Linked DNA regions of Homo sapiens: all the other regions are linked to region 2. Evidence: promoter capture Hi-C in 16 types of primary human blood cells and fetal thymus (Javierre and others, 2016). All regions are on one chromosome and are shown on one strand. The core of a region is centred on a gene start or on the middle of the fragment in contact, and the rest is flanking DNA. Distances in the headings are between cores, read along the strand shown.

What was found. The method cuts DNA at HindIII sites, captures the fragments that hold promoters and counts their contacts. A CHiCAGO score of 5 or more calls a contact.
Region 1: a contact is called between the fragment with the promoter of CCL27 here and the fragment with the promoter of KIF24 in region 2, in 1 of 17 cell types (neutrophils). The highest score is 6.0, in neutrophils.
Region 3: the fragment with the promoter of DCTN3 here is called in contact with the fragment with the promoter of KIF24 in region 2 in 17 of 17 cell types (naive CD8 T cells, M0 macrophages, non-activated CD4 T cells and 14 more); the score reaches 19.5 in naive CD8 T cells.
Region 4: the fragment with the promoter of CCL19 here is called in contact with the fragment with the promoter of KIF24 in region 2 in 8 of 17 cell types (naive CD4 T cells, neutrophils, fetal thymus and 5 more); the score reaches 9.3 in naive CD4 T cells.
Region 5: the fragment with the promoter of SIGMAR1 here is called in contact with the fragment with the promoter of KIF24 in region 2 in 10 of 17 cell types (fetal thymus, naive CD4 T cells, M2 macrophages and 7 more); the score reaches 9.6 in fetal thymus.

The regions. Positions count from the first base shown.
Region 1 is chr9:34,659,365-34,665,124 of GRCh38, forward strand. It overlaps CCL27 (C-C motif chemokine ligand 27), which reads right to left and starts at 3,293. Exons shown (of 3, transcript NM_006664.4): 1 at 3,200-3,293; 2 at 2,920-3,052; 3 at 2,526-2,715. The coding sequence starts at 3,269. The coding sequence ends at 2,580. It overlaps IL11RA (interleukin 11 receptor subunit alpha), which reads left to right. Exons shown (of 13, transcript NM_001142784.3): 9 at 395-536; 10 at 910-1,029; 11 at 1,140-1,236; 12 at 1,490-1,572; 13 at 2,118-2,538. The coding sequence ends at 2,134. LOC730098 reads right to left here. Exons shown (of 3, transcript NM_001320038.2): 3 at 4,799-5,760. The coding sequence ends at 5,670. RefSeq lists an enhancer at 264-765. The HindIII fragment of the contact is 12,066 bases long and covers 2,025-5,760 here.
Region 2 is chr9:34,326,414-34,331,454 of GRCh38, forward strand. It overlaps KIF24 (kinesin family member 24), which reads right to left and starts at 2,855. Exons shown (of 13, transcript NM_194313.4): 1 at 2,693-2,855. It overlaps NUDT2 (nudix hydrolase 2), which reads left to right and starts at 3,156. Exons shown (of 5, transcript NM_001161.5): 1 at 3,156-3,186. RefSeq lists enhancers at 2,522-2,581, 2,682-2,781, 2,869-3,376, 2,912-3,101. The HindIII fragment of the contact is 30,936 bases long and covers 1-4,846 here.
Region 3 is chr9:34,616,221-34,621,815 of GRCh38, forward strand. It overlaps DCTN3 (dynactin subunit 3), which reads right to left and starts at 4,275. Exons shown (of 7, transcript NM_007234.5): 1 at 4,149-4,275; 2 at 2,456-2,540; 3 at 1,665-1,751. The coding sequence starts at 4,244. ARID3C (AT-rich interaction domain 3C) reads right to left here. Exons shown (of 8, transcript NM_001017363.4): 8 at 4,829-5,338. The coding sequence ends at 5,238. The HindIII fragment of the contact is 4,259 bases long and covers 2,214-5,595 here.
Region 4 is chr9:34,687,922-34,693,249 of GRCh38, forward strand. It overlaps CCL19 (C-C motif chemokine ligand 19), which reads right to left and starts at 3,355. Exons shown (of 4, transcript NM_006274.3): 1 at 3,170-3,355; 2 at 2,289-2,421; 3 at 2,009-2,102; 4 at 1,649-1,918. The coding sequence starts at 3,218. The coding sequence ends at 1,898. It also overlaps a transcript of PHF24 not described here. The HindIII fragment of the contact is 13,722 bases long and covers 1,375-5,328 here.
Region 5 is chr9:34,636,511-34,641,833 of GRCh38, forward strand. SIGMAR1 (sigma non-opioid intracellular receptor 1) reads right to left here and starts at 1,277. Exons shown (of 4, transcript NM_005866.4): 1 at 1,037-1,277; 2 at 710-910; 3 at 487-579. The coding sequence starts at 1,187. RefSeq lists a silencer at 1,027-1,516. The HindIII fragment of the contact is 14,478 bases long and covers 1-5,323 here.

The DNA of each region.
Region 1 (5,760 bases), core at 2,043-4,542, 330 kb after region 2:
CAGCATCAGATAATAACTAATATTTACTTAGTGCTGCCTGCCTGTGGGGTACCTGGCTACACTTTTTGCATACATTGTTTTGTTTAGGTAGATTCACCTCTATTTTACAAATGAAGAAACTGAGTCACAGAGAGGCCCAAAGGGTCATTCAATATGTGGTTCACCAAAGATTTGAACCCAGGCTGCCTGATGCCACAGCCTCTCTAAGTAATCACTACTGCCGTCTTACAAACACTAGGTGTAGACTCAGCTCCACCAGACACCCAACATGAGACCTAGACAGCTCCACTAGGCTTTAGGATGAGACTGGGAGCAAGGGGTGCTCTTTGTAGATGGTGGCTGGGAAGGCCCTGCACTTACAAGCTGGGTAACAGTGAGTCATGTTTACCCCCAGGTGGAGCCAGCTGGACTGGAGGAGGTGATCACAGATGCTGTGGCTGGGCTGCCCCATGCTGTACGAGTCAGTGCCCGGGACTTTCTAGATGCTGGCACCTGGAGCACCTGGAGCCCGGAGGCCTGGGGAACTCCGAGCACTGGTGAGAGACAAAGCCAAAGAAAAGGGCAGAGGCCCCATCCCAAAGCATCTATCAGCTGAACCAGTTCCAAAAGACAGGCAGGTGGCACATGCCCTGCCCACACAGGCACGGCAATTGCTGTCCCAGACTTCAGACTTGTTTGCCTACAGCCCTGTCTTAGCTTAAGTCCTGCCCCTTGGCCTCCACCCCTGCAGTTACAGGCTCCACTTCTACAAGCTTGGAGCTTGCCATGCTCCCTAGGAGCTGGCCATGCCCTATCAGGCTCCTCCTCCTAGGTACCTTGACTTCCAACCTAGGCCTTGGCCTTGAGCACAGGACGTGACCCCCGTCCCCACCAGCGTATGGACACTTATTGGGTCTTGCCTTCCTTTAGGGACCATACCAAAGGAGATACCAGCATGGGGCCAGCTACACACGCAGCCAGAGGTGGAGCCTCAGGTGGACAGCCCTGCTCCTCCAAGGCCCTCCCTCCAACCACACCCTCGGCTACTTGGTGAGCTTGGGCAGATGGGCAAGACTTGTAAAGGACTGAAAACCCCAGAGAAAAGGGGACACCGAGCTTGGTCAGGCTTGCTCTCAGTGACATGTGGCCCTCCCCCTCAGATCACAGGGACTCTGTGGAGCAGGTAGCTGTGCTGGCGTCTTTGGGAATCCTTTCTTTCCTGGGACTGGTGGCTGGGGCCCTGGCACTGGGGCTCTGGTAAGTGACTGCCATTGGTCCCTCAGCCTCTGATCCTCACACATGCTCTGATGCCCATAGACCACATTCATCTCCACCCTTCATGACTGCCCGCTGAACCTGTCTGATTCTGGAACTACCTCCCCATACCTCCATCCCCCATGCCCCACTTGATTTTAACTGATTCCTCTCCTGACCCTTTACTAATAAACCCTTTGGCGGAGACTGAGATAACCCACATTGTTGGAGAGACAGCTGCCTTTCTATGCCCCAGGCTGAGGCTGAGACGGGGTGGGAAGGATGGATCCCCAAAGCCTGGGTTCTTGGCCTCAGTGATTCCAGTGGACAGGCGTCCAGGTGAGTAGGACATCCAGAAGATTTGGACTTGGAGATGTTTGCCCCTATTTTGAGTGTCCAGATTAAGAGCTGGCTGCCCTAGTCATTTTAAAACATGCTGGGAATCCAAGTTGGGTCTCCTCATTTTAATGATGTCTAGGCTGAGGGCTGGGCCTTTCATTCTTGAGTCCCTGGGCTCAGAAGTGGGTCTCTTTCCCTCCTCTCAGGGTACTGAGGAAGGACCCCAGGTGGACTTCCCTTCAGGGTATTAGTATTAGTACTAATACTCTTCCAGGGTATTAGACTCAGAGCTGGATATTCATCCTTTTTTTTCAAGGTGTCTTGGATCAGTGCTAGGTCCCCTCCTTCATTCTTAATGTGCCTGGGCCCAGAGCTAGGTCCACTCCCGTATCTTCAGTGTGTTGAAGAGGCTCCCTCAGAGCTGGGCTCCTCTACTCATCTTCAGAGTGTTAAGCTTAGAACTGAGTCACCTCCCTCATTCTCAGGGTGTCTGGGCCAAGATCCGGTCTTACTGTCTCTCCTGATTTGCCTCCTGCTTCTTCTAGGAGCTCCAAACCTGTAGAGGACCCAGGAGGGCTTCGGCAGATTCCACCTATAATTCTGTCTTGCTGGTGTGGATAGAAACCAGGCAGGACAGTAGATCCCTATGGTTGGATCTCAGCTGGAAGTTCTGTTTGGAGCCCATTTCTGTGAGACCCTGTATTTCAAATTTGCAGCTGAAAGGTGCTTGTACCTCTGATTTCACCCCAGAGTTGGAGTTCTGCTCAAGGAACGTGTGTAATGTGTACATCTGTGTCCATGTGTGACCATGTGTCTGTGAGGCAGGGAACATGTATTCTCTGCATGCATGTATGTAGGTGCCTGGGGAGTGTGTGTGGGTCCTTGGCTCTTGGCCTTTCCCCTTGCAGGGGTTGTGCAGGTGTGAATAAAGAGAATAAGGAAGTTCTTGGAGATTATACTCAGAAATTATTATCCAATGCTGCTTTATTATTTGGCTATTGGGGGCTTCAGCCCATTTTCCTTAGCATCCCAAAATTCAGCTTGGGCAGAGTCCCATGGAGCTTTCTCTCTTGGTGCTCAAACCACTGTGACAGGCTGGGGTTCTGGGGGTGGATGCAGATGCTGCGTTGAGCCAGGTGAAGCCTGGGTAGAGAAAGGTCCAAAGCTATGACCATAGCTTGGGGATGAGATTAGGGTCATCCCCAATGACCCTAATTAGGGGTTAGGAGCAAGGACCAGATGAAAACCTGAGTTGGCAACAGAATTAGCAGTTAGGGCTGGGGTTGGGATCAGCATTAGGGGTTGGGACTGAGGTCAGAGTCAGGGGTATCAGGGGTGGGAGCTCACACGAAAGCCTGGAGGTGACAGTCCCCGTCAGCCTCCTGCAGTTCCACCTGGATGACCTTCCTCAGTAGCTTGTCTGAGAGTGGCTTTCGGTAGAGCTGAGTACAGCAGGCAGTGCTGGGTGGCAGTAGGAATGCTAGGGGCAACAGGGCCATGTGTTCAGAGGGATCCTGACCAAGAACCTCTCTGCCAGACAGCTGGAGGTTAGGTTGGATTTCCTGGGTCTTTTCAACTTCATCCCATTCACCCAGACCCCCAGCTTTCTATACCCCCAAGTACTCACCTGCTGTAGGGTCTGGGCTCAGGAGCAATGACAGCAGCAGGAGGCTGCAGAAGGTTGGGGGCCCCTTCATGTTGCTCAGCCTAGACTCTTCCTTCTCTCTCTCTCCTCCTCCCCTACCTTTTATCTGGGTGCCTTTTACCTGGGGCACTAGGTGAGTCAGAGGCAGTTGGAGATGTACTGTGTAACCTGTGACACTCCTGGGCCCTAATTCTCGGCCTGTTGCCACAGACTCCTTCCTCATCTAGGATAGCCATTTCCCATGTGCTCCTAAGCTCTGGGCAGTGAAGCTGGGGGAAGGATTAGTGTGTGATGTAGGGACTGATGGAACAGTGAGTAAGGGCAGTCAAGCATCCACAGCAGCATCTAATGATAGACATTCACACTCAAATACGCATAGCCACACATTCAAAGTCACTCCTCAATCACTTGGTCAACCTCACAAAGTCATACTCATGATCAGACAACCGTAGACAAAATTATATAGCCCCGGTTATACTCAAAGTCCCTCTCCCACCCAATTGTGTTTTCACAGTCATCCAATCACAAGCAAATTCACACTAGCACACACAGATTCTGACAGGGGAGTTGTGGGTGGGGTGGGAGCAGAGGGCAGGCAAGCACCAACTTGCCTTCACCTTCTCCTCCCCACTTCCTGGCTTGGCCTGCCTGTCTTATCAGAAGAAATGGATGGGAATGGGTCCCTAGAGCAGGCCCTTCTGGCTGAGGAGGGTTCTTGGCTGAGGCCAGCCCCATTCAGAGAAGCTGGGGGAAGGCCCTTTATGGTAATATTAAGGGTGTTTTGGAGATGCTGAGGTGGGGCAGCTTTCCCCAGGATGATGAGACAGGGAGGAAAGGTGGGGTAGATAAGGAGGGAAGATAAAAGCTCTTTGGTGCTAGGTTACTGTTGTCAAAACAGGTAAAAGGCCCAGTGAATCTTACCTTCCTGTTTTTGTCTAGTCCTGTTCCAGGAATGCCAACCTCTTGCCAGCAGGGGCCTAGGGTCTCCAGATCCAGTCCCTGACTTGTTGAAGACATTGGACTCAAGCACTCAATTACATCTTTGTTTTACTCAAATTCCAGCCTCCTTCCTGGGCCTGGAGGAACATCCCCTCTCCCTACCCGGGTTCAGTCACACCCTCATGTCCAACTGCTATACCCCCTGCATCCCACCCTCCAGCTATAGCCGCTTCTCTCCTAATCCCATACCCAGCTGTCACTCCGTTCTTTACCCCCTCCCTGCAATGCAAAGCTCCTATTCATCTTTATCCAGTCCTTTCCAGGAAGCTGGGAGCTGCCTAGGGTGGGGGTATGCTGCCAAGTTCAGTGCCCCTGGCTCCTTTAAGAATTTCCCACTCCTGGTCCAGGGATCTCAATCTGCAAGTCCTGCTCTATATTTGAAACATAAACCAAGTCATAACACAGTAATCCAGCCCTTATCTTGTTGCAGTCGTCTGCTGTAGGGTCAGCCACTCTCTATGGAGTAGGCTTTCTCTTGGGATAGGGCTTAGGCCTTTCTCTTGTGTCCCAAGGCTTGTTGGGTGTAGCCACTGAGGAAATCCCAAGGAAATCTCCCAGGTTCCTCGGGCTTGTCATAGACCTTCTTCATCACTTGGCTGTGCGCTACATACTTTCTGGTCTTCCCTGGGCTTGTCGGTCCAGAAGTCTTCGGAAGGCAGAAAACAAATGCTTTTGGGTGTGCACCCATCTCTCCCCTTTAAGACCAAGTCTTCTCCCCAGCCACAATCTGCTGTAGCTTTGGCCCCAGCCAGAAACTGGGCCATCTCTTTCTTTAACTTAATCTTGTGGTGCCCTTTCTGGTGCTGGGTCCAGTCCCTAACTGAAGGCAGGCCCACATAGCAGTCCCTGATTCTCACCACTTGAGGAGTTAGTGGGTCCCAGGCTGATTGGGTGACAGAAGGGGGCGGCAAAGAGCAGTGGCCCTTGGACTCTCCTAGGGAGGGAGCAAGAACTTCTAGGTAGGCTGATGCCAAGGATCTCTAAACTTGGGATCAGACTGGAGGAGCCAAAAGTTGGGGTATGAACTGTAGGAAAGGTCGCCAACCCAAGTCGCTCCTCTGTGGCAGGCAGCTTCTAGGAATCTCCCCCTCTTACCATTTACAGCCTGCATCCTACACCTCTGCTTAAAATGTTTTAGATATACTCCCAGCAGAGAAGATTCTTCAGACAGCTGGCAAAGTCCTCGCTCCGAGGAAGGGAGTAACAGGCAGGATTATTTAGTTCTCTTCATATAGGCGACTCACAGTATGGGTTTTTGGGGGTTGGGATTGGGGGAGACAGCCATTGATAGTAACAGGAGGCCTGACACTGATGAGGGGCTTTGACGTGGAAGGGCACCCTTCCAGGGAGGGACGCCCTGTCAGTACGGAACAGAGCCCGTGTGGGGAGGGGCGCTCGGCTCGAATGGCGACAGCGGCGGCAGAGTCAGGAGGTCAGTACGGTGGGCTTCGGTTTAAATCTTTAATGCACTGGCTGGCTGGGCAGCGGCGGTGGGGCTGCGGCGGGGGAAGCCACGACCCGAGCGCTGGGGAGTAGGACCCAGG
Region 2 (5,041 bases), core at 1,605-4,104:
TAATGGGAAGAGATAATTAATAATCAATAAGCGGTAGTTTTAGATGATGATAATCACTACCGAAGAATAAAGCCCAGTGCAGGGCTTACTTTACATTGGATGATCAGAGAAGGCTTCATTCAGAAGGGAATATTTGAGGTGAAACCTGAAATAACATGGAGTCACTTATGTAAAAATCAGGAGGAAGAGGGTTCCACGTGAGCACATTAGCCCAAAGGTGGAAATGAGCATGGCAAAATCAAGCCATCAAACACGGACAGGTTGGCTGGCATAGTAGGTGAGAAGGAGAATAGTATGAGAAGAGGAGAGAAAGGTAGGGGCCAGATTATGTAGGGTGTACTGGGCCACATAAAAGTGTCTGAATTTTACTTTTAAGTGAAGTAGGAAGTCATTAGAGGATCTTAAGTGGAGAAAGTATATGCTATGATTCGTCTTCAAAGTTCACTCTCCCAGTTCTGTGAGGAAATGGATCACAGCAGGTGGGCAAAAGTGGAAACAGGGAGATCATTTAGGAAGCTACTGCACTGAACTGACAAAAAAAAATGCTGACTTGGAAAAAATGTTTCCTTTCATGAGGGTTAATTAGAATAATGTAAATTAACTGCTACATTCAGTGTCTGATATATAAACACTCAACAATATATTATACTATTATTATTAGTTTATACCTACAGAAAACTCTTCTTATTCAACACGATATGAACATCAAAACCCTTGAGACAGTAACTTGGGAGGTATACAATGACCATACACTCAAGGTTTAAGAAGTAGAACTCTATTATTTATTTAACAAAATGTGTTGAGGATCTACACTGTGCAAATTATAAACTGGTTTGCTGAGCCAGCATAGGGAAACTGGATTAATATATCAGGCATCATAGAATACTAGATCTGGAAGGGATCTAGAAGAGTTCAGCCCCTCACTTTACGACAAAAGAGCAGCCCAGAGAAAGAAACTGTGGTTCTCCCTAAACTAAAAACTGAGAGGCTCATACCTTAGGTTGCCCCAAGGACACACTCTGAATAACTAAAGATTTTCATTAACAATATAAAACCACAAATTTTAAATAAAATGCTATCTTAGCAGTAATGTGCTACACTAAGAAAAATGTAATATGCATATAAAGCCCTGGATACAGTGCTTTGTACGGGGTGAACACTCAATAAATGGTAACTACTACTTTCAGCAGCTAAAAAAAAAGTCTGTATGGTCTTTGGAAGGCTGAGAGTGTGTGGTCTACCTGACATCAACTACTTGACTTGAGAGTAGAGCCACAGGAATTTTAATCTAATTCAATTCTTTGATTTTCCAGATGGAAAAAATGAGGTCTAAAGGGGCTAGATTCAGGCGTTCAAGGCTGCGGTGAGCTATTATCATGCTAGTGCACTACAGCCTGGGTGACAGAGCAAGACATTTTCTCTAATAAAAAAAAAATAATAATAATAATAAAGGGACTAAATGACTTGCAAAGCCACCCACAGTGAATTAGAGACAGAGACAGAGCCAAAGCCAAACCCACATGTAGTGGGTTTCCACTACATGTCACAGCTATAAGGTAGTGTTTCAAACTTTTATAAAAGGGTAACAAGAACATAGCTGCTGTACTGAACTTTTTCACTCCTTTTATTAAGGCCACCAGTGAGCTATGAATTTGATATAAGGAGCAATCACACCAACAATCAGGCTGTGAATATATAATCCATGAGTTAACAACGAAACAGTCTTAGGAACGCAATTCTATCATAGACACCTGATGAATAGATGGAGTTCACCTGAGCAGCTGTTATATGCACTTCAATAGAGAGACTACAAAGCCTCTCTACTTGTAGAATACAAGTACAAAGAAGATGCTTTAAAACATTTTCCAAAGCACACTTAAAATGTGACAATAGCTGCCGGTCACTAAGAAGCTAAAGGGAGATAAATTATCTTGGCATACAGCAACAGAATGGTTTATTTTAAGCAAAGACTAAAAGGAGTCTAATAAAATTATTGGGAGACCAAGGCTAAAAGCCACAGATGCAGGAAGAGTTGCAGCAACCAATCCAAAAAAGTTTAGCCTTTCACAAAGAGTAGAAAGGCCAGCTGTGGACTGTGTGTGGACTTTTAGGTCCTTTTGCATTGAAGATTAGGGTGGCCTCCCCCTAGCCTCGAAATAAAAAATCGTCTCTGAAGCAGAGAGACAACAAGGCAGGGCATGAAGAGGAATCCAATCTATTTCTTGTAAATTAAATTCAACTCAACAAATATTTCCTGAAAATCTACTATGTGCAAGACATTGTGAACGATGCTTGCCTTACCTCAAAGGCTTCAAAATTTTATGGGAAAAGGGAAGCGAACGGGCTTCCCGGAAGTAAACAACCCAAGGGCGAATAGAAATGCCCTAAAAGAGGTGCCGGTCAGGCTTATCGGTTCAAAAGCAAGAAGGCTTTGGGACTCAAGAGTTTAGTCTCCCAAAGTGAGAGAAGTGGCGTTCAAGATAATTGCTGAAGAAAAGGCAGAGATATGGGGATGAAAGATAGGAAAGTAGGTGAACTTTAGGAAGAGCCAAGAGGGGCCAACTCTCGGTTCCCTCACAACTGCCAGTTTCCTCCCGCGCTCAGCCGACGTCACGCGCACCCGTGTCCGCGGGCAGGCGCCACGGTTCCGGACCAGACCTACCCCTCCTCTATTCTCCCCGCCCTTTCTCACCTCGGTCCAAACTCCTCGGTCTGCCCTGTCTGAGAAGAGGAGAAGACAATGCCGTCGGGAGTGAGCCCCAAAGCCCGCAACCTAACAGTCCCGTCAACCCGGGAGCCACCGGCGGCGGCCAGGCCGCATCTCCATGGCAACGCCGCCAAGCGCCAGTTCGAACGCCCGCGCTGTGGCCCGCGCGTCGCCAGTCCCGCACCGCCCACCAATGGGCATCCAAGGAATCGGTTGACGTTCGTTGACTTCTCCTCTGGAAGACCAATCAGAGGTCTGAAGAAACCGTGGGCGTAACTCTCAATTTCCGACCTTCAGCCAATCGTTCCGCTTGAGGGAAGATCTCGCGACGTTTCAGTGTGAGACGCGCACCTTTGAGGCGGGTCGAAGATCCTTCTGCCGAATTCTATTGATGGGCCCAAGCGTAACCAGGCTCTTCTGATTGGCCGGTGTACTTCAGTTTCCGTCCAAGGTCCGCCTCCTACCTCCTTCTGCTTCGGGTGAGTACCCTTAAGGGCCCACTTGATTTTAGTTCTCAGTGGAGGAAATGAGCCTTGGAGCGATGGGAATCTGCCTCTGGCAAACCTCTGGTCGCTGCAGGGCCCGAGAGGGATGCGCCCTCCTCTAAGTTGGCAGTGAGGTGTGGGCAGGCCAGGTCCCATCCGCTCTCAGGACCTCAGTTTTCCTGTCTGCACCGGGAGAAGGGAGGTTCCCTGACTCTGAGCCTTGCTTGTCCCCGTCGGAGTGGGGATAGGGTGGGTCGTCCAAATCCCAGAGGCGGGAGAGGTCCAGGTTTAGGGCCCAGAGGCCCAGGCGCCGAACCTTCCCCTCCCTGGGCCTCAGTTTCACTTGTTGCTACCCATTAAACCCCGCCTGCTTTCCAAAAGAGATTTTATGTTTTCTAATTGCTTCAGTTATTGAATGGATAATATCGTGGCAGTTATAGCAGAAGTAAAGAAAGTCGAACAAGAGCCCCACCGCCTTAAACAAACAAACAAAAAAGGGACAGCGTAAACAATGCAGGCCGGGTGCGGTGGCTCACGCCTGTAATCCCAGCATTTTGGGAGGCCAAGGCGGGCGGATCACGAGGTCAGGAGATCGAGACCATCCTGGCTAACACGGTGAAACCCCGTCTCTACTAAACAAAATACAAAAGTTAGCCAGGCGTCGTGGCGGGCACGTATAGTCCCTGCTACTCGGGAGGCTGAGGCAGGAGAATGGCATGAACCCAGGAGGCGGAGCTTGCAGTGAGCGGAGGTCGCGCCACTGCACTCCAGCCTGGGCGACAGAGCGAGACTCCGTCTCAAAAACAAAACAAAACAAAAAAAAACTGAATGCAATCAAATTGTCAAATGTAAAACGCTATTATAGAGTTAAGGTTAAGATCATTGATGTTAGGAGTCAGGCAGACCTACATTTGAGTCACTTACCCAGACATCTCTGAGCTATAGTTCCCTTTCTACTCTTCTGAAAAATGGCAGTAATGCCTCAGCGGGTTGTTGTGAAGATTAAGTGAAATAATGAAGGTAAAGCACTTGACACAACGCCTGGCGAGTAGTAACTTCTTAAAAAATGGTAGCGGCCGGGCGCGGTGGCTCACGCCTGTAATCCTAGCCCTTTGGGAGGCCGAGGCGGGCGGATCACGAGGTCAGGAGATCGAGACCATCCTGGCTGACACGGTGAAACCCCGTCTCTACTAAAAACACAAAAAATTAGCCGGGCGTGGTGGCGGGCGCCTGTGGTCCCAGCTACTCGGGAGGCTGAGGCAGGAGAATGGCACGAACCCGGGAGGCGGAGTTTGCAGAGAGCAGAGATCGCACCACTGCACTCCAGCCTGGGCGACAGAGGGAGACTCCGTCTCAAAAAAAAAAAGGTAGCTATTATTCTTATAATAAGAACAGGCAAATACACTAGTCAGTGCGTTGGTGTACTTTTTGTAACTGAGTACCCAATTTTGCCCAAAATTAGTCAGTTAAGGGAAAAAAGGTAATTCTTACTAATAAGGAAACAAATCCATTCTTCAAAAGATAAATTATTTTTCTAGTTTCTATATTAAAAGGAATTTATGCTGTGGGACCTTATAAGGAATATATATACTGTGGTGAACAGTGTTGAGCAGTTTAACAGACAAGATGAAAAGTCATTTCTTTAAAACAGAGAAGCTTTTTGATGATCTTTTATGACACACGGGTAACAGTAACTCATATATTTAGTACCTCTGATAATGTCAGACCCTCTATATATGTCATTTATAAACTCCACAACAACCATGCAAAGTAGGTGTTAACTTCATTTTACAAATGAGGAAGTTAAGTATCTTGCTCTAAGTATCTTGCTCTATTAACTTCAATAGCT
Region 3 (5,595 bases), core at 3,025-5,524, 290 kb after region 2:
GCTTTGGACAGTGACTCTGTCCACTGCCCCCTTCTCTAGGTGCACATTTCCATCCTGCCCCCAACTCTCCTGGATGCCTCAGGTCTGACCCATCTGAGCCTAATGAGCCTCTCAATTTCTCCAAATCCCACCTTTCTCCAAGGTTTAACTTCAAGACCTCTTCTTCTAGCCTCCTATCAACAAACTCAGGGAGCACCTCCTAGGCCACAAAATACAAAATACTTCAGACTTGGATCCCCACACCCAAGGGTCCCCAGGAAGGTCTAAAAGAGATATGTGGCAGACTACGCCAGGCAGGTTCTGCTCAGTGGCTCTCAGAGGCATAGACAATTATATGCTGGAGGAGAGCTGGGACAGTAATGGAAGAGTCCAGTGAGGAGAGCAGGATCTGGGCTAGGCCCTGTATGCACACGGGATTTCAATGCACTGAAATCCATAGAGTGGGAAGGGTATTCAAGAGAGAGGACTGTTACGTGCAAATGCTTAGAGGCAGGAATGCCTGTCAATTAGTAGAGGAGAAAGAATTCAATTAGCTGAACTGGAGTAGGGAGAGCACAGGAAACAGAGTTGGATGGGAGGGTAGACCCGGCCGACTGAAAGGCTTTGAATGGCAGACTATGGAATTAGGACTTTATCCTAGCAAGGCAGGATACACTGAGGTTCCAAAGTAGGCAAAGTGACATGTTGGGAACATGTTTTTGTGAGGGTGAGACTGAACCACATGCAGGAAGGGAAAGATTAGGGTCAAGAGTATGATTTAGGAGACTGTGCAACCATTCATATGCAAGTGGATGCACAATTCCTGAGGCAGTGCCACAGGGAGGGATGGAGAGGCTGGACTCAAGAGTCAGTGCAGGAGAATATCTAAACTTGGTGCTTGAGCGATGGCAATTGACCAAGAGCCCTTTGGGAACTCTGACAGCCCTTTTAGCAGGAGTGGCCCATCCTTACCCAGTCCTCAGTGCTGCATTGCACTGATCAGTCTCCTGGGAGACTGATCTCCCATCTGGGTTATAAGCTCAGGTCCCTGAAGCAGGGACCCTGTCTCCCCTAGCTCTGGCTGTGCCCATGAGGGCAGGGACTTTCTGGTTCACCACTGTATGCTTCCTCACTTAGGAAAGAACCTGGATCAGAGTAGATGATCATTATACATCTTTTGGATGAATAACGAAGCTCAAAAAACCCTAGCTTATAGAATGGCTGACTGATTAGCAGACATTGCCAAGGCAATAGTTCCTGCCTAGAACTCTGACACTGCAGAGCTTTCTCACATGAAAGAAAGATGTTGAAACTCATGCCAATACTCTCTCTGTTCTTTAATGGCAATGCTCTCTGCCCCTACCCTTTCCTAGAAGCTCCTCTGTCTAGTGAGCAGAAGTGAGGAAGGTTCTGAAGGAAAATCCAAGAGGCAAACTATTGATAGAACACTGGACTAGCTCCCACTGTGGCTGGCACCATGGCCTGCAGCTGGTGCAGAGGTATACTGTACTCAATGTCTACTAGAGGATCCATAGGATCCTCAACCCAGAACCAGGCCACAATTCCAGAGAGCAGCATCCAGGGCTTGTATCCACCAGAAGACTGGATGGAGAGGCCATCTCTGTGCTTAACCTCCCCGACGACCCACATCCTCAGATGCATGTACACATGTAGTCCAGCATTACCTGCTAGGATGAATTGCAGCTTAGAGGCATCAGGTATGGCAATGCGGTCGATGTACTCAGGATCCAGGTACTTGATCAGATCTTCAACTAGAAAAGTAGCAAGATGGAAAATGGAATAGGGTTGGGCAGTAGAGCTCTGCCTTATGAAGGATGTTTGACAAGTGGTCAGCCTTGAGGAGAGCCTTCAATGAGGAGCTGATACCCAACAGTGCCACATGAGCAGGGCTCCACCAGGCTCCCTATCCCCACTTCCCTATCTCTCCACTCTCTTCTCTTGAAGTCTCTTCTGACATCAAGCTTCAGAGCTGAAAACACAATTGCCACCACCACTCTGGGCCCTTAGCATTCTCACTGACCTATCCTCACCAAGGGTAGAAGGCCTCTTTTCTCCTAGATGTCACCGAGACAAGCCAGAGCTTTGTCTAATTTCTAGTTACTAAGCAGGTTACTAGTTCTGACATAACCAGGATCTCAGTGTCTAATTTGTTTCCTGCCCCTTAACCTTGCCTGGGAAATCCCATACCCTTTTTACCCTCCTTCACCAAGAGAAGCTTTCAGGTAGAGCTCTTATTTCATAACTTAGGACACTGTCATGGGCTTGAGGTTTAGCCACAAGGTAGAAAAGCACACCACAATTTACCAATTGAATTGGGTGTAGGTAAATGTCCTCATAATCTTTCTATCCCCAAAGGGCTATTCCAGTGACCTAATGAACTGAAGGGCTAGGGCCAGGTACCAGGAAGCTGAGGGGTGGGATGTCGGGCAGGCAGGCACATCATGGAAGCACTTACTCTTTTTGTAGAGAATCTTCACCCTCTCCCTCTTGCTGGAAATGTTCCCCAAAGCCACCTGCACCTTGACCAGGCCGTCAGCCACCTGTAAGGGAAGTGGTGGTTAATTCCAAGATATACTACCTGGCTCAAGGCTTGGAAAAGTTAAAGAACCCTCATTCTCCCAGACTCTCAAACCTGAATCCCAGTAATCTAGGTTGGCCTCCCTTCTCTAATATTAAAGGAGATGCAGCCCCACCTTCCAGGAATCCTTAAAGTGGAGAGAGAGAATCATGTACTCCTTGGGGAGTTTCAAGTCTGATGGGGAAGATAACGAACTATTTTAGAGTCTATGGAATATAGAGTATACACAATATATTTTCTGGTTCCTAAGTCCTGGGTTTGGGCATGAGAAACACAAGCATCCTCATTCAAGCCTTCATGACCTCTAGATTGGCTGGCCTACCTCTAGCCCTATCCCCTCCACATCAAATTTGGTGTGGGAGATGGAAGAGTCCAAACAACTGGGATCCCAATGATGGTGCAATCACTGAATTAGGGAATACAGAAGAGAATCAGGTTAGGGGAGAGAAAGAGTACAGTTAAGGGCATACAGATTGAGTTTGAAATGACTATTGGATATCCAAGTGGAAAAGTCCAGTAGACAACTAGACATAAAAGTCTGGTTCTCAGAACAGAAATCTGGACCAGAGATATACATTTGAGACATATTGACATGTAAATAGTAATTGACACCATGGAAGCGAGTGAGCCTACCTAAAGTTTAGGGGTAGAATGTAAAGAATCCCAATATTAAAGGGTCAAATAGAGGAGGAGACTAAGGAAGTGACTGCACTCACCCAGTTTTTAGGGTAGAGGATGAGGAATGCCAGGGGGGAGGCAAATAACACTGAGAAGCAGCCGTAAGAGGTAGAAGGAAAACCAGGAGGGTCAGCGTCATAGATCCCAAAGGAAGAGAATGTTTGAGAAGTTAGTTCTGAAATGGGAGCACAGTCTGCTAGTGACAACTAATTCCTCATTTAGTGTACAAACAGACATCATTACCTTGGACGCACTTAGCTCCAGGACATGCCTGACACGCCATCAGAAGTTCTTCAATAAAAGATCTTCCCATAGTAGAAAGGGGAGGAGAGGGCACCTGAGCTTCGTAGTTGTCAAAATTCTGTCACTGGTATAAAGCAGTGCTAGTCCACATCTGAATACCCAGTACCCAGTCTCTTCCCTTCCTAATCCTGGTCCTTTCAGACCTCACTTCTCACCCTTTGGCGTTTTCCTTATCCACCTCTGCTCTGCCTCCCCAGGGGTCCCATGGACCTCTTCCTGCACAATTCATTTAGCAATTAATTATGCAGGGCTCTATGACGGGCCTTCCTATCGTGGACTTCAGCTCTTATTGAAACTCTCATTAGTCAGCTTCTCGTGTCAGGTCTCCCCAACTATAGCTCGCGAGGGCAAGGGCGGAGTCTCAGCTACAGTAGGTACGGAGCCCACTCTCAGGCTGGCTTAACCACCCGCAGAGCCCCCTATGACAGTGGACCCCGATGGTCCAATCAGCTCTGGGAGGTCCCGGACCTTTGTTATTTCAAAGGCCGGGCTGCGGAGAACAGGACTGGAGCGGTTGCATCCCGAGGGCCAGGACAGTGGACCGCTCTTGCTCTGCTCCAGAAAGGGACTACCGGACCAGACTACTCACCTTCCGTGAGCCGCGCGCCCCGCCCGGCCCGTACACCCAGCGCTCCAGCTCTTCCACTCGGGCCTGTAGCCGCTGCAAGTCAGTCAGACCCGCCATCGCTACTACCGACCCACCTCGGCCAGGAAACAGCCAGAGGGCGGGACGTCAGTCCAAATAAGAAGGCTAGCCAATCCGAGTGCACGAGCGGCCCTTTATGCAGGAAGTGACGCCATGATTCAGCCCTTCAGTGCCGGAAGTTACTCCTCGGAGCTGTCAAAAGCTGATTACCTTGGCAACGGCTCTGTCCCATCCCTCCCCTGGCTTCCAGTGCCTGGTTGTCAAGATAACCTTTGCTTTTCGGGTACCAAAGAGCTTTCCCCACGCCATTCCCTGAGTTTGCACGTGTTCCAGGATAGGTCCATTCCCATAGATACATCATTAGGAGGCTCCGTGAGTTACCATAAACTTTTGGAGTCTTCTAAGGTTCAGTTGATTAAGTAACTTGCCCAAGGCCACCCAGCACTATAGGGACAGAAACAGGACTTGAACTCAGGCTGTCTGATTCAAGAGACGGAGCTCTTCTATTCTCACGAAACTTTGCTATTCTGCCTTAACCTCTGAAAGCCCCTGGCCCAAGGCAGCCTATGTTCCACATCATTCCTCCCCACCTCCCATACCCAAACAAGAAAGGAGGCATCAGAGAGGGAGGGACCGCAGCTTTATTGTCTAGATGTGACCTGAGGGATGTCTCTTTCACAGTACCCCAACCCAACCTTTCACTTGGCTCCTGAAGAGAAGCAGGGCTGACTCAAAAGGGTAGGGTCCTAGAGATGACATTGACAGAGGGAACACATGAGGAGATGATGGGGTTACTGGAGGAAGAACCCTTTGGTAGGTGCTGCTGGAATTGGCCAGGGAGGAGGTGCCCTCCCTTTACAATGAGGTAGGTGTAACATCAAAAGAAACTTTGGTTTTAAGTCCACATGGCATGGGAGGTGTCGTCCCCTCCCAGGGCTGGGTCCCAGAGTGGGCAGCCAGAAAGAATCAAAGCAGGGGGTCTCCTCCCCCCTCAGCAATGGGGCTGGGACTCTTAGTTTCAAGTAGGACCTCTCAGGGCAAGATGCTGGAAGGGGGCCCTGTGGAGGGTGGGGGTGCAGGGTTGGTTGGACCCTGGGAAGCTGGCACAGGCTGGCGGCGGGCAAAGAGGACACCTGGCAAAGGGGTGAGGAGATGGTAGAGGGCAAAAACAAGCAGGAGGGGGTAGGGTATGGAAACAGAAGAGGGGAACAAAAGTAAGTGTTCTGGTTGCTAGAACACTACACACGTACCCCTGCCACAAACCAATGAGGACAAGCTCCTTGGGTCAGTAAGAGACTCCATTGCTAATGTAGATACCTCAAACAGGTAAACAAGGAATATTTATGCTGATACATAGGCCCAAGACAAGGCAGACATCCCCTGGTACTCA
Region 4 (5,328 bases), core at 2,105-4,604, 360 kb after region 2:
GGAGGTCTGATGAATGCAGAAACAGCTGAATGAATGGATGCATGGATGCATGAATGGATGGGTTATTGCAGCTTTTCTTGAAAACTATCCCTATCCCTCCCACCCACCTGGTATTCCAGGTGATTCTGAGACCTGGGATACCCAAGGTTTTGAGCACCTGCATCTGGGAGCAGAGGAGAGGAAGAGGATGTCATGCTCTCAGTGAGGAGGGGCTTTCACAACTCCCTCACCATTTCTCCCTTTTCAAGGCCTGCCCAGGCCTGGTTTTGTTGCTGGCTGACGTATACCCGATATAATGACACCTCTCTTCCCAAGCAAGGGTGCTCAATCTGGCCTCCTTGCTGTCATCTGACCCCAGTGGCACAGCCTTGTCACTCCCAGCTGGAGAGGCCCTTAGAGAACACTGTCTGGAGGCTAGCCTGCTTCCCCAGGAGACTTCTCAAGTACGAGGCACTCACTCTGTACAGAGAAGCCCTGTGGGATGCTCCAAGAGTCACACGGCTCTCATCTCCCAGAGCTGAGATTCCTTTCTGGTCTCATCTGGGGAGATGTCTCTGGTCTCAGTGTTGCCTTTGAGCCCTGGAGCCCATGTAGACTGTAGGGGTGGTGGTAGGGCTCCTCTATGTGGAATCTCCTGTGCTTCCCTGGCTACTCCTTCTTCCACCCCGTGGGCCTCTCTCCTGTCTCTGACCTCTGACTCCCAGGTCTGTCTGTCGGTGTCCCTGAGAGGCATGGCCCCAGGATTGCAAAGATGGGGCTGGACCTTGCTCAGTTTGGCTGAGAGAGGAAGGCTGGCCTGGAGGTCAGATTCTGTATGGACAGAATGAACAGATGGACCCTCAGCCCTGGCTGCTGAGCCTTTCCTCACATATTTATTCATTCTCTAAACAAATATTTATTGAGGGACTGCCTTGTGCCAAGCAGCATGCTGGACACCACAAAAACAGTGGAACCCAAAATAGATGTGATCCCAGTCCAAGAACATGGACAAATTTGGACAAACCAGCAACTATAAGTCAGGGTGATGAATGCTGTGAGGGGCCACTGCAGGAGGCTACCTAACCCAGCCTGGGGTCAGGGAAGGCTTCCTGGAGGAAGAGGCGTCTGGACCCAGATGGGAAGCCAGGTGGGCAGAGGAGAGAGAAGAGTGTGCCAGACCAAGGGAAGGGCATGGGTGGATGGGTATTTTCCCCCAGGCAGTAGAGCTGGGCCCTTTGCCCCACTCCACCTCCCCCAGCCGTGAGAGCTGGTTCCCCACAACTCCCTTCCCCCCAGTGACACTGGATTCCTTAGACACCTGGATGCTTGAACACCTGCCTTGGAGAGCAAAGAGTGGGAGGCATGAGACGCTGGCTCATTCAGGGAACTGACCCAAGCTTAGTGTCGCTGAACTATGGAAAGCAATGAGGCTGATCCTGAGAGCATCAGGTTGTTAAGTGGAGGTGAGCAAGGAGACCCCCTAGGCCACAGAAGAGAAAATAGATCCTGCCATTCCACCTCCCCCTTCCTATTCCTGTCCACCTGGCTAGACAGCAAACGGACAGCAGACAGATCTATGGGTGCCAGGTGCCTTTTTTTTTTTTTTTAAGGCTAGTTAAGCAGTAGGAGTGGAGAAAGAACAAAGAAATCTGTAACAGGTTGTGATCAATTAGTTGTAAACACCAGGCGGCTTTATTGGTAGCATTGCAATCTGGGGGTGGAGCAGCTTTACTCTGACCACACTCACCCTCTCGCTCACACTCACACTCACACACACCCCAGGCCCTGTCCTGGCTGGTCAGGTCTGGTGCAGAGGAGCTGGAAGCCTGGTCCTTCCTTCTGGTCCTCGGTTCCCCAGGTTAGGTAATAATTCACAATGCTTGACTCGGACTCCGGGCTCCCTCTGCACGGTCATAGGTTAACTGCTGCGGCGCTTCATCTAGAGGAGGAAGGAGAGGAAGGATCATGGGCTGGAATCTTAGACAGGAGCTCAGAGGGAGGAGACAGGGCCAGGGAGGGCCAGGCTTGCCTTGGCTGAGGTCCTCTGCAGTCTCTGGATGATGCGTTCTACCCAGGGCTGGTCTGGGGGTGCACAGAGCTGGCGGCCCCTCAGTGTGGTGAACCTGGGGTGAGAGGCCGGAGAGAATGGAGCCCCAGAATCCAGCATGCCTGGGGACCATGTCTGGGAACCTGTTTCAGGGATTTCCTTGAAGGGGTTGGGCTTGGCATGGAGAAGGGGAATAAGAAGGTGGGAGTCTCAACAGGGGCTAAAACGGGAGATGAGGCTAGACACCCTCCCCACAACTCACACTACAGCAGGCACCCTGCAGCCATCCTTGATGAGAAGGTAGTGGAAGTTCCTCACGATGTACCCAGGGATGGGTTTCTGGGTCACAGACAGGCAGCAGTCTTCAGCATCATTGGTGCCACTCAGAGTTGGGGCTGGGATGGGGAAAGAAGGTGACAGGACACAGGGACCCTTGAGGGTGGCATGGCCATGGCCCTAGCTCGGATTGAGGACACCTGTGTGTGTGTGTGTGTGTGTGTGTGTGTGTGTGTGTGTGTGTGTCTGGTGGGGTCGGGGAGGAGTTAGACCTGGTATTCAGCCATTATGCACCAATATGGCTCTGGCTCTACTGGTTGCTAAATATATTGTCATACTTCTAAACTGTTTTGTAAATAACCACTGCCCTGAGCCCCACAAATGACTTCCTGCTGCCCTGATCACCCCAACCTCTCTCCCAGGACAATCCAGCAAGTAAAGAGTTAATGCAGGTCACAGTGTGGGAGGGGCGTGGGGTAGGGTAGGCTGGTGTTAGGAGCCTTATTAATTGCTAAAATTTTTGAATATCAGCCTTGGCTTAGTGTCTGCCATTCTCCCTACCTTAAGCAAATCTCCTTCTGCCTGGGAAACGGAGGCAGCAGGAAATAGAGCTTGCAGAGACAGTCACAGCCATAGGCCCCAGGATGTGCTAAAAGACACACCCGCATTGGGATTCAGGGGCACAGGGACACCCACACTTACAGGCACACATGCAGGGACCTGCCAGGCTCACCGAAATATACAGACCTAAGCATTTGCCTGAACTCACCATGTCCCTTACGTCCAGTGCCAAGCAATCTGAGATCTAGACATTACCCACTGCCAGCCCCCCACTGCCTCTGACCCTGACTCTCCCTTCAGCCTTACCTGGGGAAGTCCAGAGAACCAGCAGGCTGAGGGCCAGTAGCAGGGCCATGGAGGGTGAACAGAGGCAGGCCAACGGTGAATGTGTGAGCGCCAGCTGTCTGGGTGTGTGCAGGATCTGTGTGAGGCTGCAGGGCGACTGGGATGCAGGGGTGAAATGCAAGGTGTGAGTGATGTGAGGCTGGGAATGTGAGCCCTGCAGCTGACTCCTATTTATGGCCAGAGCTTCACTTTCTCTGCCTGAAATTCCCCTTCATGTCCCATTCTGTGATTCCCCTGTTGCCCCCCTCTTTCTGGCAGAATCGCACCCTGCCCCCCTTCTTCCCCCTGCGGTTGCCCTTTCCTTCTGCTTTCCTTGGCTCCTGCTCTGAGAACTTAAGTCTGCAGTCTGGCCCAGTAAAGGGGGCTGTGCACTGTTTCTCCAGAGAGAGGGATTGCCCTGTCATCCCATTGATGGCATTTGCATCATCAACCATGAAGCTGGGGTTCAGAAGTGATGGTCAAAGGTGGGGCCCACAGTGAGGAACTGTGCTCCCTTCCTTAGGTTTATCCCTTGTCCTCACTGGTGCTTCTTTCTTGGGCTGGTGGTGAAGAAGGCTCCCTGGCACCCTCAGGACAACCATGAGATCCTGGGGTGGCCTCCAAGGTCATCACTGTGCCTGCCCACTATGTGGGAACCAGTCCTTCCCTTGGGGCAAGCAGAGCTGAAAGGCCAGGTACCTTGGGAGGAGGCCCAGGACCCCCATCCCACATCTCAGGCCTCTGGGGCTCAGCAAACCCTCCCCTTCCTCTATTTACTGTTTTCCTATGTCCAACACCTGGGTCAAAGGAACAGCTGGAGGGAGACTGGCTTGGAATAGCCCCCTTCATTTTCCCCCTTTTCTCAGTCCTGGGAACCAAGAGGGGATTTCTAAGGAGAGGGGCTGGCCAGCTCATATTCAGACAAATCTTAAAATTTCAAGGAATCGGCCGATGGGGGAGGGGACAAGTGACTTCCCATCCTTATGAGAAAGGTCAGAAGAGAAGGCCTTGAAAGAGAAACTAAATGTGAAACGCCCAGTCACCCGTCGTCACCCAAACCCTAGACCCTCTTTTGGATGGAGAGAGGGAGGGGGAACATTTCCCTCTTAAATTTCTGACTTAGCTTCTTTCCATTCATTAATCATAATAATAGTAATGGTATTTTTGATTGTTTACTATGTGCTAGGCTCTATGTCAAGGACTTTACCACTATTACCTTGCTTAACTTTCCCAAAACAATACCATTGATGTAGTTTTTCTTATTTTCACATTATTATTCTTATTTTACACATAAGGAACATGAGGCTCAGAGCACAAAGCCACACAGCTAGTAAGTACTGGAGCATGATTTGGACCCAGGTGTGCTCTAGGGTTTGCAGTCTTTACCTCCACTCCACACCGCCTGTCTGCCACTTGGTCATGGCACAGCACGGGTAGTCACGGTGCAGAGGAGGGAGACTCTGCAGACAGAGCGCCTAGCTTGGGATTCAGATTCCACCACTTACTAACTGCGACAAGGTGAAAATTCTCCAGTTTCTGTGTCTTAGTGTCCTTATTTGTAAAATGGGAATGGTAGAAGATCTACTTCTTAGGATTAAGTGAGGAACCCTGAGTAAAGCCCTTAGCTTAGAGGCTGACGCACAATAAGCTCTGTTAGCCATTGTTCTTCTTTTGTCCTTTTTTTTTTTTTTTTTTTGAGACAGAGTCTCACTCTGTCACCCAGGCTGGAGTACAATGGCACGATCTTGGCTCAGAGCAACCTCCACCTCCTGGGCTCAAGGGATTCTCCTGCCTCAGCCTCCTGAGTAGCTGGGATTACAGGCACCCACCATCATGCCCGGCTAAATTTGGTATTTTTAGTAGAGGTGAGGTTTCACCTTGTTGGCTAGGCTGGTTTCGAACTCCTGGTTTCGAACTCCTGACTTCAAATGATCTGCTTGCCTCCGCTTCCCAAAGTGTTGGGATTACAGGCGTGAGCCACCGTGCCTGGCCTTCTATCCTTTTATTCAGGTATCTGTTCATTAATTCATCCATCCACCCCTCTTTCCATTGATCTATCCATTCTTCTGTCCATGATGGTTCTGGTTATTCTGTTTGCCCCAGCCTATCCATTCTCCACTCTTCACGGCCCTGCTCTGCTC
Region 5 (5,323 bases), core at 27-2,526, 310 kb after region 2:
TGTAGTCCCAGCTACTCGGGAGGCTGAGGCAGGAGAATGGCGTGAACCCGGGAAGCGGAGCTTGCAGTGAGCCGAGATCGCGCCACTGCACGCCAGCCTGGGCGACTGAGCAAGACTCCATCTCAAAAAACAAACAAATAAAAAGATAACTGTCTGTCTTGTCTTTTGGGGTATTGAGAGCATTTCTGATTACCCATTGTCTCCCCAACAGTTGTTGGAATACTGTCTGGGCAAAATTGTGCCTGGGCAGATAAAAATCAGACATGTTTAATAGGAAGTTGTTATGTTTTGTTTCCCCTTGACAGAGGAAAGCAAGAGTCCCTCAGCTCTGCCCCAACCAATCACCTGTGGCTTATGGGAGGGTGGAGGAAGGGAACCATGAGGAGGGCCCCCCCAACACACTCCTTTTCCATGCCATGCTCCCCGCAATTGTGGGCACCCCCCGCGTGAAGGGACCCACTTCTCTGACAGAGCCTTCTTACCCACCTGGGTAGAAGACCTCACTTTTGGTGGTGCCCTCTCTCCACTGGTGGAAGGTGCCAGAGATGATGGTATCCGAGATCTCAGCCCAGTAGCGCCCTGAGTGACAATCGCACATGACACTATCAGGGTATTCGCGCCATTGCATGGCCCAGCCAAACATCAGAAAGGAGGGCATGGGCCCCTTTACAACCCCAGCCTCCCAGTCTGGCCCGCCGCTAGCACTGACCCGAGTGGCCGCGGGAGCCCAAGGCGGTGCCGAAGAGCAGCACATACTCGGACAGCGAGGCGTGCAGAAGGCACATGGCGCCCATCCAGCCACCCGCATTCACGAACACCCACTGCAGCTCCTCGTCGGGCAGCACGTGGCCTGGGTGCAGCCGCCGCAGCTCCACGATCAGACGAGAGAAGGCCAGCTCGTGGTCCAGCCCTGGCGGAGGCAGAGGGGCGGCGGAGTCAGGGCTGGCACCGGTCCTAGGTCCGGGGATGGCGCCTTCGGAACCCTAGGCTCCGCTCCCAGGCCGGCCGCTCCCCTCCCTGCCCTCTGCCCGCTCACCAGCGTACTGCCGCGCCAACTGCGCTATCTCTTCGCGCTGGAAGACGAAGCTCTGCGTACCCAGCCAGAGCCAGACGACCTGGGTCAGCACCGCTGCGACAGCCAGGAGCAGCGCGGCCCACGCCCACCGCCGGCCCACGGCCCACTGCATCCCGGCGGGCGGCCTGGCACGGCGCAGCTCAGGAGGGAGCCGGGGCCTGAGGCTTTGCGCTCACGGCCTCGGAGCCCGCCGGCTGCCCACGAAGCGCTCCCCCGCCACCGCCGTGGTACGGCTCGCCCTGACCAATCGGAGCGGCCCGGGCACCTTGGCACCGCCCTTCGGTTGAACCATTTCCTCGGGGGGAGCACGGAGGAGTGGGGCGGTGCCGCGCAAGGGAGGCAAGGGGGCGGGGCCAAGTCGCCCAGCGGCAGATGTCAGGGTCTTCAGGCGAGGTCTGACCTAGCTAGCGCCACTCTACATACGGATAGGTGTGGGGATAGTGAGACCCAGAATGGACGGGCTCGCCCGAGCTCACTGGCTGGTGAAGCAGACGAGCCCGGAAGTGAAGCCTTCTGGGACTCAACGATTGTTAAGGCCCGCCTTTACCAGGACTGAAGCGGAGAGGAGGCAGTTCAAGCTGGGAGCCCCAGGGTGGGCATTCCAGAGGCGGTGACACCTGAGCAGTGTCTTTAAGAGCTCGCAGAAGGGGCATGCCAGCCCACAGGGACCAGCCCCTAGAGCAAAGGCCTCCGAGGAGAGACAGCTTGGGGTCTTCAGGGGCCTACAATTCCTTCTCTGTTCTGCGGCACAAAATGTGAGAGGAGGCCTTGTAAACCAGCTGAGGGTTATCAGCAAGGGAGGAAGGGGATTAGATTTTGCCACCGAGTGGCACAGGACTGTCGAGTGGAGGGGAGCAAGATGAGTCAGGGAGACCATGACTGTGGGCCAGGTAAGAGGGAAGGTCTGTGTCAGTGGAGATGGAAGAAAGAAATGAGCTTAACAACTCTGGAAATGGAGTTGGCAGGGCTTGATCTCTTCTTCCTGGAATACTCTTTCCCCCTTTATCCTATCCCCACTTTCCCCTTATTTGGCTAACATCCTTTGCATGTCTAGTGGGCAGTTGAGTGTCCAGGTCTCGAAGCTCAGCTCCAGTCTGGAGATAGAGCTGGGAGTTGTCATTCATTCAGATACTTTGTTGGCACTTGTATGTGCCAAGTTCTGTGGTGGCCATTAGGGATATGGCTAGAAACAATGGTCCTACTCCCCAGCTTAGAGATCTCACTGGAGAGTCTACAGAAAACCTCTAAGAATGGATGAAATCTCACAGGGAGAGAGAATAGAGTAAGATAAGGCTAAAGACAGAGCCCTGGAGAGCACCAACAGCAAAGGGTAGGCAGAGGAAGAAGAAAGCAAAAAGGAAAAGAAACAAAAGAGAAAAGAGGTAGCATTGTGCAGTGATTAAGAAATAAACTCTGGAGCTGGACTGCCTGAGTTCAAGGCCTGGCTCCTGCTACCTACTAGTTGTCTGATCTTGGGCAGTTTACTTAAAATCTCTGTAACTTAGTTTTCTTACCTGTAAAATGGAATGGAGATAAGTACCTACCTCATAGTACATATCTTCATTGTGATGAGATTAGATGGGTTAATATTTATAAAGCAGTTAGTGCCTCACATGGTGAGAATTTTATGTGATGGTTATATATATAAAACATAAAGGAACTGGAAAAAAGTAGCCTCATACATTTTTGACCTTAAAGAAAGAAACTGAGGCCGGGCGAGGTGGCTCATAACTGTAATCCCAACACTTTGGGAGGCTGAGGCAGACGGAACACTTGAGTCCAGGTATTCGAGACCAGCCTTGGCAACATGGTGAAACCCCATCTCTGCAAAAAGTACAAAAATTAGTCAGGAGTGGGGGCGCACACCTGTAGTCCCAGCTACTCAGGAGGCCGAAGTGGGAGGATCGCTTGAGCCTGGGAAGTGGAGGTTGCAGTTGAGCCAACAGAGGGAGACTCTGCCTCAAAAAAAAAAAAAAAAAAAAAAAAAAAAAGGGCCAGGCACAGTGGCACACACCTGTAGTCCCAGCACTTTGGGAGGCCAAGGTGGGCAGGCAGATTTCCTGAGCTCAGAAGTTCGAGACCACCCTGGGCAACATGGTGAAACCTCGTCTCTACTAAAATACAAAAAATTAGCCGGGCGTGGTGGCAGGTGCCTGTAGTCCCAGCTACTCGGGAGGCTGAAGCAGAAGAATCGCTTGAACCCAGAAGGTGGATGTTGCAATGAGCCAAGATCGTGCCACTGCACTCCAGCCTGGACAACAGAGGGAGACCCTGTCTCTAAAAAAAAAAGAAAAGAAAAAGGGGCCGGGCACTGTGGCTCACACCTGCAATCCCAGCACTTTGGGAGGCCGAGGCGGGTGGATCACCTGAGGTTGGGAATTTGAGACCAGCCTAACCAACATGGAGAAACCCTGTCTCTACTAAAAATACAAAATTAGCTGGGCGTGGTGGCGCATGCTTGTAATCCCAGCTACTCAGGAGGCTGAGGCAGGAGAATCACTTGAACCCAGGAGGCAGAGGTTGCGGTGAGCCGAGATCACGCCATTGCACTGCAGCCTCAGTGTGAAACAGCAAAACTCCGTCTCAAAAAAAACAAAACAGGCTGGGCGGGGTGGCTCACGCCTGTAATCCCAGCGCTTTGGGAGGCCGAGGCAGGTGGATCACGTGGTCAGGAGTTCGAGACCAGCCTGACCAACATGGTGAAACCCCATCTCTACTAAAAAATACAAAAATTAGCCGGGCGCGGTGGCGCGTGCCACCCACTTGGCCCAGCTACTTGGGGGGCTGAGGCAGGAGAATCGTTTGAACCCGGGAGGTGGAGGTTGCAGTGAGTGGAGACTGCACCATTGCACTCCAGCCTGGGCGACAGAGTGAGACTCTGTCTCAAAAAAGAAAAACACACAAACAAAAACAACAGTGAGGAAAAAAAAAAGCTGAGGCAAAATTAATATAGAGAGTTTATTTGGGCCAAGGTAGAGAACGACTGCTCGGGACACTTTTCCAAGTTGCCTTGGGGAATGTTGATACAAGCATTTTTTATTTTTATATGTGGTTTTTATTTTTATTTTTTATTTTCTTGGAGATGGATTCTTACTCTGTTGCCTAGGCTGGAATGCAGTAGTGCAATCTTGGCTCACTGCAACTCCCGCCTCCCAGGTTCAAGCTATCCTCCTCCCTCAGCCTCCCGAGTAGCTGGGACCACAGGTGTGCACCACCATGCCTGGCTAATTTTTGTAGTTTTAGTGGAGACAGGTTTTTGCCATGTTGGCCAGGCTGGTCTCTAACTCCTGACCTCAGGTGATCCACACTCCTCGGCCTCCCAAAGTGTGGGATTACATGTGTGAGCCACTGCACCTGGCCACTTTATTTTAACTTAATTTAATTTTATTTTTTTTGAGATGGTGTCTCCACTGTCGCCCAGGCTGGAGTGCAGTGGCGCAATCTCGGCTCACTGCAACCTCTGCCTCCCAGTTCAAGAAATTCTCCTGCCTCAGCCTCCCGAGTAGCTGGGACTACAGGCACCTGCCACCACATCCAGCTAATTTTTTTGTATTTTTAGTAGAGATGGGGTTTCACCATGTTGGCCAGGCTGGTCTTGAACTCTGACCTCGTGATTTGCCCGCCTCGGCCTCCCAAAGTGCTGGGATTATAGGCGTGAGCCACCGCGCCCGGCCTATTTTTATTTTTTGAGACCGGATCTTGCTCTGTTACCTAGGCTGGAGTTCAGTGGCACGATCACAGCTCATTGCAGCCTTGACCTCTTGGGCTCAAGGGATCATCCTGCCTTGGCCTCCCAAAGTGCTGGAATTACAGGTATGAACCATCATGCCCAGCCACAAGCAAGTTTTTAAAGGCAAAAGAGGACAAGGAGTGGGCTGACACAAAATTGTTTAACAGGAATTCTCATTGGCTTACAGAAACAACATTGATTAGTGATTGGCTATACCTTGTTGAACTATAGGGTATGAGTTATGGTGTCTAGACTATGGCATTTTATGGCTATGTGGTATCAATTTAGAGCCCACATAGCAAGTGGCTTCAAGGGGTAATTATTTGGCTCCATGGGGGTGGGGGAAGGTGAGATATGACTGCTGTTACATGCTGTCACTTTTTTTTTTTTTTTTTTTTGAGACTGAGTCATACTCTGTCGCCCAGGCTGGAGTGCAGTGGCGCAATCTCGGCTCACTGCAACCTCCGCCTCCCGGGTTGAAGCGATTCTCCTGCCTCCGCCACCCAAGTAGCTGGAAT